Regions from separate parts of the Homo sapiens genome. Here region 2 is linked to region 1. The links are contacts of gene promoters, found by promoter capture Hi-C in human tissues and cell types (Jung and others, 2019). All regions are on one chromosome and are shown on one strand. Each heading gives the region's core, a stretch centred on a gene start or on the middle of the fragment in contact. The rest is flanking DNA. Distances are from core to core; before and after follow the strand shown.

Region 1 (6,153 bases), core at 1,412-3,911:
TTGAACCCAAGAGGTGGAGACTGCAGTGAGCCGAGATCATGCCACTGCACTCCAGCCTGGGCAACAGAGCGAGACTGTCCCCCCCCAAAAAAAAAACAAAAACAAAAAACAAAAACCTGTGTCATAAGGTCTCATACTCACCTTGTTAGATATAGATTGGCCCTGAGTTCCCACTGGCTCAGAATGAGTTACTCTTCTATGAGCTCACTGACAGTTGTACATGACTGTACTGTAGCACTTCCCATATTTTTTGCAATTTGCTCTTTGCGTCCATCTCCCACACTGGACTGGGAAATTCCTAGGGGAATACATAATTTCTGACTCATCGCTGTATCCCCAGGATGTAACATATGACTCAGCACATGACTGGTGCTCAGCAGACATTTGTTGAATGAATGTTATCACGGACAGGGAATACGGTACTAGTGCTTGTTGAACTGCACGCCAGATATGTGAAAAAACATTATTTTATCCTCACAAAAAATGTACAAAGCTAAGAAATGGCAGAGCTAGGATTCAAACCCCAAACTGTCTATCTCTCCAAAGCAATTGCTCTTCCAAGTATGCATGATGTTCCCTACCTTCACCATCGCTACGTACCCACCTACTCTCTGCTTCAATGCCTGGTTAAAAACAAAATAAACCACCCTTCTCCCAGACGTCTTTCCTACTCACTCAGGACAGGAGTGCCTGAGTCCAGCCCTTGATCTTCCACAATACGTTAACAAATCATCACCAACTGGGAGAGGAAAGGGTGCCCCCTTGGTAGCTGAGAACTGAACAGCCTGTTGGGTATTCTGCAGATGGTGGGGTGAAGTCCTCAGCTCCTTCTTCTCCTGCCTTTCCCCACAGGTGCAGTGCCTGGGCCCTTCCTGCCTCTCTTCCTTCTTCAGGATCCAAAGCCTTTTTAGTTCTCCCCATTCTAAACCCAAAATAATCTCCTCAGGCCCATTACTTCTCTAACCCAGTGAATGGTGTTGAAAATGCACTCTTCCATTATATCAGTGAGACCTTTGTATTTTAAGCATCTCATCAACCATTAGGGCTGGCAAGCATCCCCATGCCCTGAAACACAAGAATTTTGTGAGAAGGGATAATGGCATTTTAGGAGGCCCAATCACCTGACCCTCCATCAATCTGAATATTTTTGGCGGCCTGGGAGTAAAAAGAGACAACCTATAACATCCCTCCCCACCCCCTGCCCCAGCAGCCTTTGTCCCCTAGCCCGGGTCTCTACGGGAGGGATGAAATCTGGCCCAGCAATGCTGCAGGGGAGGGATGGTGAACCCTGGTGCCTTCCTCTACATCTTCCTCCAGGACTTCAGAATCCTTCTTCTCCCCCTTGTCCATCCCATGTCTCTCTCTGGCCCTGGACTCCCACAGCCATCCTCAATCCTAACTCAGAAACTATGTTTTTTAATTAATATTCAGCAATTTCCTTGGAATACAATCATCTGCTCTGACATGCTGAAAGGCACACTCTCTGGCCCTGATATTATCCTACCTCCAGTTTTAAATGTATGACAAATATATCCCTGCATCCTATAACTACTCTCCTCGATACTGCAGGAACGTCTGTAATGTTAAATGTTATCACGCCTAAGAAATACCCAACCTCCTGAATCGGAATAGGGAGACTAAATTCTTCACTGTTTCGTACTCCTAAATAAAGATTATTCATGCAATTTACAGTAACTACCTCACAGCGCCAGGGTGATGATTCAATGATAATTCATGCCAACTGTTTAGTACCTAGGGCCTGGTACATACAGAGTGCTCAAAATTTAGCTGTTATCATTTACATACATTATCTTTCACAATAGTACCTGAGGGTAGATATTATACCACGCCCCCCCGACCCCCGCCTCTAATTTACAGAAACAGTAGCCCCGGCTCGGAGTAAAGGAGCTTTCCCAAGGTCAGTCAAGCAAGGATGTGATGCTCGGCCTTCATCCTGCAAGTGAGGGATCCCTCCCGTTACACTCTGGACGGGCGGGGCACTGGAGGTCTTAAAGGAGACAAGTATGGAAAAGCGCCGAGCACAGTGATCAGCACACAGTGGGGACGCCGGGATGGGAAGACCGCGGTACTGCAGGTCACCTGGATTCCCCCCGAGCAGCTCCCCGAGCCCGGGAGTCCAAAGCCCACCCCGCTCCCAGCCGTGGGCGCGCCACTGAGTACCCCAGAGGCCCGCGCCCCGGGGCTTTGTAGGCAGCAGGCCGGCCCTACTCACCGAGTCCCATCGCGGCGCGCAGAGGCGGCCGCCCGGCGCCCAGCCTGCAAGGCCGGGGTCGCAGCGGCTCGGCCCGAAAACCCTCCATGCCGGCCCCCGGCCCCCTCTACGCCCGGCCCGCGCCCCCCACCCCCGCCCCCGCCCGGCTGCGGCCCGCCCGGAAGGGGAGCCTCCTACCTGCAGCGGCGGCGCGGCAGCCGCGGCGACCGGGGGAGGGGCCGGCGAGGCGCGAGGGCGGGCGGCCTGGGCTCCTCTCGCAAGCAGGGCGGCCGGGAGGGCCGCGGGCTCCCGAACGCCGGGCGGCGGCGGCGGCGGCGGCGCGCCCCCGGCCGGCCAGGCCCCGCCGCGCGCGCCGCGGCCACAAAGCCCGGACGCCGCCGCCCCCTCGCGGACCGCCCGCCGCCTGCCGGTCCGTCGGCGCCGCCGAGGAGGGCGGGAGCGCGGCCCCGCGCCAGTCCCCACTTCCCCGAGCTGCGGCCGCCGGCCTCCAGGGGACTGGGGCGGGGCGCGGGGTGCCCCCCCGCCCACCTGCCCGTCCGCACCGACCCCGCTCCTGACATCCTCGGGCTGACGTCCTCGTGCTGATTTAGTTGCCTTTTTTCCCCACCTTTGCAGAGGAGCTCCTGAAGCGGCCCGAAAAACTGTTTTATTTCTATGAACAACAAAAGAATACATTTGTCACACGGGATTTGGCGGCCATGAACACGAGTTAGTTCAGTCCAGGTCCCCCGACTGAAATAGGCCCTTTTCTTTTAGGACTCCTTGATACTTGGGACAGCGAATCCCCCTATGCTGAGTTTATCAGAACTTCTGTTAATTTGTGGAACGTGCCTCCCCCAGGAGAGCGACTGTGCTCACTGGAGCCCAGGACCTGTCTCGGACACTGTGCTGACTCATTTGGAATTAATGCGTGTGTAAATGCATGCACAACAGCTCAAACTGTCGGGACAAGCCACCCTTTGCTCCTCCCGCAAACAGAGTGGCTGGATGTTTCTTTTGCCCTGGATCCATTGGGAAGACTCCAACCCCAGAGAAAGGCAGAGAAGGCTTTTTAACTTTTTTTTTTTTTGAGGTGAAATTCGCATAACATAAACCACTTAAAAGCGAACGATTTGGTGGCATTTATTACATTCATAATGTTGAGCAACCACTTCTATCTAGTTCTGAAACATCCATACTCCATTAAGCAGTAATTCCCCAGTCCCTCCTTCCTCCAGACCCTGGCAACGACTCAGCTATTTTCTATCTCTGTGAGTTTACTTTTTTCTGGGTATTTCATATAAATGCAACCATACAATATGCGGCCTTTTGTGTCGTTTCTTTGACTTAGCCTGTATTTAAGATTCATCCATGTTGAGGCGTGGATCAGTACTTCATTCCTTTTTATGGCTGATTAATATCCCATTGTATGTGTATATTATAATTTGTTTATTCATTCATCCCTTGATAGATATTTGGGTTACTTCCACCTTTTGGCTATTGTGAATAGTGCTGCTCTGAACATGCCTGTACACATATTTGAGTACCTGTTCCCAGTTCTTTTGGATACATACCTAGGAGTGGACTTTCTGGGTCATAGGGTAATTCTATGTTTAACTTTTCCAGGAACTGCCAAAAAGTTTTCCACAGCAGCTGAATGAATCATTTTACATTCCCATCACCAATGTTTGAGGGTTCCAAGTTTCCACAACCTTGTCAACACTTGCAATTTTCCGTTTTTGTGTTTTAATTCCTTGAACATTTTTGAGACTATTGCTTGCCCTCCCAACTCCCACTATCCATAGCCCTAAAGTAAAAACTGATCTAGGTTTTCACTATGTACAAAGAATCACGCAACCCTTTCTTTCTTCCCTCAAAAAACAATCCAGGGCAGAAGCACCAATAAAAATAAAGACCCTAAACTAAGAGCTATACTGGTCCTCATTCTTTTTCTTTTCTTTTTTTTTTTTTTTTTTTGAGACAGAGTCTGCTGGAGTGCAATGGTGCAATCTTGGCTCACTGCAACCTCCGCTTCCCGGGTTCAAGCAATTCTCCTGCCTCAGCCTCCCAAGTAGCTGGGACTATAGGCATGTGCCACCACTCCTGGATAATTTTTGTAATTTTAGTAGAGACAGGATTTCGCCATGTTGGCCAGGCTGGTCTCGAACTCCTGACCTCAAGTGATCTGCCCACCTCAGTCTCCCAAAGTGCTGGGATTACAGGCATCTCATTCATTATTTTAACAATAATTTGTCTGATGTCCAGGAGGCCTTGAAATTGTCCAGAGAGCCTGGAAACTAAAATTATACCAGGGGAGTTGCTACAATGTGCTAGCAAACAAGCTATGATACCACACCGAAAGCCAAGGCTGTACATCATTTACACTTGTTTTCCACTTAGTGCCATATTATAAGTCCATGAAGATTCCCTTCTTACATGCAGATACGGTCAAGGGAAAACTATTGGGGTGTGACATTGGAAGGTCAATTCAGATTGGAAATTTGATTGATAAAGTGATACAGTGTGGAAAAAGCACTAGATAAACGTGAACTAAGTTAAGCTCCTGAATCTCAGTTTTCTCATTTCATTTTTTTTTTTTTTTTTGAGACGGAGTCTCGCTTTGTCACCCAGGCTGGAGTGCAGTGGTGGCGCAATCTCGGCTCACTGCAAGCTCCACCTCCCGGGTTCACGCCATTCTCCTGCCTCAGCCTCCCGAGTAGCTGGGACTACAGGCGCCTGCCACCACGCCTGGCTAATTTTTTTTGTATTTTTAGTAGAGACGGGGTTTCACCATGTTAGCCAGTATGGTCTCGATCTCCTGACCTCGTGATCCGCCCGCCTCTGCCTCCCAAAGTGCTGGGATTACAGGCATGAGCCACCATGCCCGGCCAGTTTTCTCATTTCTAAGATGGGAATATGATGCCTACCTGGCTGGGTAGATAAAAGCTTCTAGTCTTAACTTCAGCAAATGATCAGTGTTATTTTATTGATTTAAATAATGAAGATTGTGGCTCATGCCTGTAATCCCAGCACTTTGGGAGGCTGGAGCATGTGGATCGCTTGAGCCCAGGAGTTCAAGACCAGCCTGGGCAACGTGGCAAAACCCCATCTCTACCAAAAATACAAAAATTAGCCAGTCTCATAACCTGGTCTCAAAATAAATAAACAGATAAAATTTTAAAAATAAAAAAATTAATGCTGTAATAAATAAATAAATAATGGTGATTGACATGAGCCACATGTAGGTGTACTGCTAAGGAGACATGGGAAACTCAAATTTAGTCATGTGTCTCTCCTCAAACAAAGAGAGCAGACTATCTTAAAAACTAATGGGGCAGGGTAACTACTCAGGCCTGCAATATGGTGGCTGCCTTCCCAGCTCTCTCCTTGATCCCTGACTTAGTTCTGCATGCTACCTTGGACAACTGACTTCTTTTTCTTTTTTTTTTTTTTTTTTTTACTTTGGATCACTTACATCAAATTAAATAGGTTTCTTGAAAACACAGAGAAAACACTCAATAAATGTGAGCTATTTTATCAATAATAAAGCTATTACAGTTTCTTTGTAGAAAGTGTTAACAGAAGGGCAGCGTCTACACAGAGTCTAGGAAAAGAAAACCATAAAGAACTCATCCATGTGACTTGTCCCTTTTTCAAATGCTGGAGGGTCCCTTCAGGAGATCCATTCCTGTGATGGAGATGAGTGATGCATTGCGCTCCACAGGTTGCTGAGAATAGCTATACATATTGTATCTTTTTTGCTAGGATCCAGGCTCACCAAGCAGTCTTGATATAGTAGTTGATTTCAACGACATCTTTTTTTTTTTTCCTTTTTTATTCCTTTTAGAGACAGGGTCTTGCTCTGTCACCCAGGCCAGAGTGCAGGTTATGATCATAGCTCACTGCAGCCTCAAATTCCTGGGCTCAAGCGATCCTCCCAC
Region 2 (6,153 bases), core at 1,092-3,591, 150 kb before region 1:
CTTGTACTGTCACTAACTCACCATGACCTTGGAAAAATTCCAATTTCCTAGTGCCATGGTTTTTAAATCCATAAAATCAGGGCGTTTAGTTAAGGTGATGTTCAAGGTTCCTGACAATCTGTCATTCTATGAGTCTGAAAATATGAAAGGCGATTCCAAGAAGAAGAAAAAAAGAAAAATTGACTCATGCAGTCTTGATAAACAGGTCAGTGGGAACATCCTTTTAAAGAAGATTCCTCCCATGTGACAGCCGCCACGGTATATGTCAACAGCTGTCTCATAATGGACTGTGTGGGAGAGATACTTAAAAACTCAATGGAAATAAATCCAAGTACATAAATGTTCTAAATCCAAGATAGCAAGACATTCTAGGGGAGGAAATACCATAATAAAAAGACAGGCCTCCAGGAGAAATCTGTGATAAATTCAATGAGATGACTCTTCAATCGTAGAGACAGTGGGCAGTAAAGACACTGTGACATAGTTAGAAATACACTGTGATGTCTAAGTGGCTGTGAGGGCAACAAGGAGGGATCTGGAGTATAAACTAGAGGGTACCTACTTCAAAACTGCCTGCCAGGTAATTTTAATTGAGTAGTTGAGCATTATAGCACTGAAAGAGTTGGGTAAAAGACTGTTGTAAGGGGGCTTTCCTAGCTCTAGGACCTTAGACCAAGGTACTTCTTATCTCAGGGCTTCAGTTTCCCAACTTCTCTAAATGAAGGGGTTGAACTCAGAATTGTTTCTCATTGACTCTGACATCCTTTGATCCTCTTAAAAATGGCACTATCTGGCTGGGCACAATCCCAGCACTTTGCGAGACCGAGGCAGGTGGATCACTTGAGCCTAGGAGTTGAAGACCAGCCTCGGCAACATGGCCAAACCCAGTCTCTACAAAAAAAAAAATACAAAAATTAGCAAGGCATGGTGGCGCATGCCTGTAGTCTCAGCTACTCGGGAGGTTGAGATAAGCCCAGGAGGTGGAGGTTGCAATGATCCAAGATCATGCCACTGCACTCCAGCCTGAATGACAGAGTGAGACCCTGTCTCAAATAAAGGCACTATCTCCAGGCCTCAAACATCTCCCCTTACTTTACCTTAATTTTCCTTCTGCCTTCCAAATCATTCATTACCTCACTCCTATTTAACTCTAATAATGACTTAAATGGTCTTCCCCCTACCTCATATGTTCACTACTCCAATGAATTTTTCAGATGACTCATTAATACTCTGAAAAATATGGTTTATACCAAGTCCTTCCCCTGCTCAAAAACCCTAAACTGCTACAAAATCAAGTTTGAACCCTGCTCCCATGCAATGGTCATACTGGGCAAACATGTTTCCCAAGATGACTCAACATGGAACCTTTCAGTGTAAAGAATGAATGGGAATCAAACTGAATCCAAATCCAGACAATTCCACTTACTAGTCGGATGACCACAGACAAATTACTTAACCTCTGAGTCTATATTAAATGGCTACAGCCAGTCATGCTGTTAAATGTGTTTTCCCTATCTTCTCTTTCTGTTATCATTATTTGTTACATGATTATGTCCCTACTTTGATCTACCGTCCAATTTTATATTCAGTAGTCTTGCCTAAGGGCAGATCATCTGTTCTGTGAAATAAAGCGCACTGACTTTCATGCCTAGGTGTTATGAAAAATATCTGTTACTTGGAGAACCTTTTCTTTTTTATCATTTCTAGATTTATCATCTCAGCTCCAGATGGCTGAGACTACTGAAGGTCTGGCTTCTATCCAGACCTTGGATAGAAGGGCCACAAATCCATTATGGCCTGCCAATATCTGTATTTGATATGCTTCAACCCTCTGCCCAGAATAATGCAGGGAAGTGGAGAAATGATGCTTATGAGACTTCTGAACTGAAGCTTAAAGAAAGAGGTAAGCAGGAAGAAAAGCATTAGACTGGGAAGCACAAAGACAACACGAACTTGCTGGATTTACTCTGACTTTTCTCAGGCCCAGTTCAGTCTGACTTATGTATTTCTACTCAGTTTAGAAAAGACCCATTTTATGCCACTGCACTCCAAATAAGTCATTTAATTTATGACGAATAATTTTATTTATAATACAGAATTTTAAAGCTTATTACTTATCGCTGCAATCCTGAAAATGAAGTAATGTTAACACCATGATATCACAATAAAACTATCTTCAGCCTCTGATTTCTTCCTTTCTTACTATACTAACTGTGAGTAAAGTACGTTCTTAGGGCACAGAACCCCTTGCAGTTGTGCAGGGCTTAAAAATCTTCTGCATGGATCTCCTATGCATGTGCAGATCATTCTAGAAATTCTGAGCCAGTCAGGGTGGTTCACGCCTATAGTCTCAGCTACTCTGGAGGACCACTTGAGCCCAGGAATTTGAGGCTGCAATGAGCTCTAATTGCTACTGCACTCCAGCCTGGGCAACAGAGTGAGGCCCTGTCTCTTAAAAAAAAAAAAAAAAGATTGCTACTAACATTATTTTCCCAGAATACAGTGTTCAAAGACTGTATACAGTTCTCAGATCCCTAAATTCCTTTATCTCATTGACTATTCTCATTCCCTCTCTGCTTGTCGCCCAGATATACCTGTAAGACTGGGAATTAGTCCCTGCCCGTATCCTAAAGAAGAAGGATAGGGAGAGACCACTGAAAACCTCAGGGAACTGATCATAAGATTTTTCCTAATAGACTGGTGGCCTCAAAGCATCTATAAATAAACAGTTGCCTGCCTCTAATTTAAAGTTGATATTTCTTACATCATTACCTACCTTGTTATGCACATTACAATTGCTACTATGATGGCAATCTGTACAGCTCCAATAATTGCTGCAATAAGAACATGAGTGAGCTTTTGCCTACTTGGCACTACATAGAGAATACTAAAGTCTGTCTTTTCACAGTGCTGTCCAGTGTAGCCAGATTCACATCTGAAAAGGAAAAATATATATATTCCTATGAAAATTACAAATTTTGATACTCCCAAGCTTTTACATTAAAAAATACAAAATAGTAATAAAATTTAAACAGGAATAGGATATCATGCACTTTCCTACCATCTGGGGGAAAAATGTCATTTGTATGTTTCCCTACTGTCTTTCTGATATGCCTACATGGTGCGTCTTTCACCTAAGTTATATCACATTAATTTTAAAGTTGCTGAATATTGTTAATGTATATCTTTTTTTGTTATTGTTGCTTTTGCTTTTGGTGTCATATCTAAGAAATTATTGCCTAATCTAAAGCCACAAAGATTTACTCCTTTTTTTCACTTTTTAAATTAAATTTGCTTAAAAATTGACAAATAAAATTACGTATATTTATCATGTACAACAGGGATCCCCCCCAACTCCCGGGCCATGGACAGATATTGGTCCATGGCCTGTTAGGAACCAGGCCACACAGCAGGAGGTGAGTGGTGGGCAAGTAAGCAAAGCTTCTTTGTATTTACAGCTACTCCCCATCACTCACATTACCACCCAAGCTCCGCCTCCTGTCAGATCAGCACTGGCATTAGATTCTCATAGGAGCGCAAACCCTATTGTGAGCTGCGCACACAAGGGATCTAGGTTGAGTGCTCCTTATGTGAATCTAATGCCTAAGGATCTGTCACCGTCCCCCATCACCCCCAGATGGGACTGTCTAATTGCAGGAAAAACAAGCTCAGAGCTCCCACCAATTCTACATTATGGTGAGTTGTATAATTATTTCATTAAGTATTACCATGTAATAATAATAGAAATAAAGTGCACAATAAATGTAATGCACTTGAATCATCCCCAAACCATCACCCCCACCCCCAATCCCCAGTCCATGGAAAAACTGTCTTGTACGGAACTAGTCCCTGGCAACAAAAAGGTTGGGGACCACTGATGTACAACATGATATTTGGAAATGTATAGACATTGTGGAATGGCTAAATCAAGCTAATTAACATATGCATTACCTCATATAGTTATCATGTCTGTGGTGAGAACACTTAAAATCTACTCTCTTAGCATTTTTTTCAAAATAGATACATATAATTTCAAAACAGAAATATAATACTCCATCCAGTGACTATAATATAGCTAGCATTATCTATTCCCAGTTCTAAGACATGTCAGTTATTTTCAATTTTTCACAATTATAAATTAGATGTGGTAAACATCTTGGTGAATATGCGCTTTTCTATATTTAGTGTTATTCCTTAGGGCTAAGTACCTGAAAATTAAGACTATTGAAAAAATAGGTATAAACATTTACAGTCCTCTGAACATAGCACCAAATTATATTCAAGACACTTTTCAGTGTATAAAATATAAACATGTAAGATGCAAGGGGAAGATGAAAATAAGTTATTAATAACAGAAACAATGTCAAGCAGTCAAGGAGGTAAGCTGTAGGTGCTAATCTTGGAAATTATCTGAATTCCAATTAAAAGTAGATAAAAAGACAACTGCATCAGCTGATGATAATTTGACAGGGAGAAATATTTAAGACACTTAACAGACAATTTACATTTTTAAGCTGACAGCAGTGAAATGTATAAATTAGCCAGCCTTCAGTGAGAACTGATTAATAAAACATTTGAAGTATAAAAACAGTATTTATGAATGTCCCACAACTCATTAAGAAAAGAATTTGAGGCAGCTTATCGCAAAGCACACATTAAAACAACAAAAAAGAAATGTGGGAGGAGGGAAACAGGGAAATCCAGGGGTGCTGCAAGTCTACCAATCCAGTCCCTGAGGTTCCTAGACACTTCCCAGTACATTTCACATTGGGCTCTACGCTTTCCAGCAAACAAAAAAAAACAAGCAGTGGGCAGGTATGTGGATCATGGAAGAGAATGGAGAGCCTAGAAATAAACCCATACATCTATGGTCAATTGGTTTTGACAAGGGTGCTAAGATAACTCAATGGGGAAAGAACTGTTTCTTCAACAAATGGTGCTAACTGGATATCCACACACAAAAGGATGAAGCTAGACCTCTTCCTCGTGTCATACACAAAAATTGCCTCAAAATGGATCGCAGATCTAAACGTAAGAGCTAAAACTATAAAACTCTGAAGAAAAAAAACATAAGATACAGTTATTATGGAAAACCGTATGGAAGTTCCTCAAAAAATTAAAAATAAAACTACCATATGATCCAGCAATCTCATTACTGGGTATATAACTATAGGAAATAAAATCAGTATATTGAAGAAATATCTGCACTACCACGTTTATTGCAGCATTATTCACAATAGCTAAGATATGGATTTAATCTAAGTGTCCATTAACAAATAAATGGATAAAATAATGAGGTATATATACAAAATGGAATACTATTCAGCCATAAAAAAGAAGGAAATCCTATCATTTGCATGGATGAACCTCCAGAACATTATATTAAGTGAAATAAGCCAAGCATAGAAAGACATATACTGAGTGATCCCACTCATATGTGGAACCTAAAAAAGTTGATCTCATAGAAGTAGAGAGTAGAATAGTGGTTACCAGGGACTGGTGTGGTAGGAGGTGCTTTGAGGACATGTTGGTCAGGGGATACTAAATTTCAGTTAGATGGGAGGAATAGGTTCAAGAAATGTAGTGTACAACATGGTGACTATAGTTAACAATGCAGTGTATTCTTGGAAAATGCTGAGGATTTTAAGTGTTCTCACCACAAAAGTGGTAACAATGTGAGGTAATGCATATGTTAATCAGCTTGATTGGACATTTCACAATGTATATATATTTCCAAATATGATGTACATAATATGTATACATAATTTTGTCAATTTTTAAATAAATTTAATTTTTAGAAGAGAATAAAACATAGGAGTAAATCTTTGTGACCTTAGATTAGGCAACAGTTTCTTAGATATGACACCAAAAATCAAAAGCAACAACAACAACAAAAAAGATAAATAGCACTAAATCAAAATTAAAATCTTTTGTACTTAAGGACATTATCAAGAAAGTGAAAAGACAAGCCACAAAATGGAAAAAAAAAGTAAGTTCCATATATCTGATAAGGGACTTATATCTAGAATATATAAATAACTAATACAACTCAATAATAGCCAAAAAATAAAAGAGCAAAGGATGTGTACTGACATTTCTCCAGAGAAGATATACAAATAGCCAATAAGCACATGAAAAGATGCTCAACATCAT

What was found. The method cuts DNA at HindIII sites, captures the fragments that hold promoters and counts their contacts. A contact is called where the count stands out against the background at its distance.
Region 2: a fragment that was not itself captured here is called in contact with the fragment with the promoter of MSANTD3 in region 1 in 1 of the 25 tissues and cell types used here (pancreas).

The regions. Positions count from the first base shown.
Region 1 is chr9:100,423,651-100,429,803 of GRCh38, reverse strand. MSANTD3 (Myb/SANT DNA binding domain containing 3) reads right to left here and starts at 2,661. Exons shown (of 3, transcript NM_080655.3): 1 at 2,411-2,661. RefSeq lists silencers at 2,165-2,284, 2,325-2,554, 2,595-2,824. The HindIII fragment of the contact is 14,283 bases long and covers 1-5,717 here.
Region 2 is chr9:100,569,300-100,575,452 of GRCh38, reverse strand. It overlaps MSANTD3-TMEFF1 (MSANTD3-TMEFF1 readthrough), which reads right to left. Exons shown (of 10, transcript NM_001198812.1): 9 at 2,777-2,935. It overlaps TMEFF1 (transmembrane protein with EGF like and two follistatin like domains 1), which reads right to left. Exons shown (of 10, transcript NM_003692.5): 9 at 2,777-2,935. Among named protein-coding and RNA genes, the nearest start is that of CAVIN4, 5.7 kb to the left of the region's middle. The HindIII fragment of the contact is 5,125 bases long and covers 1-4,903 here.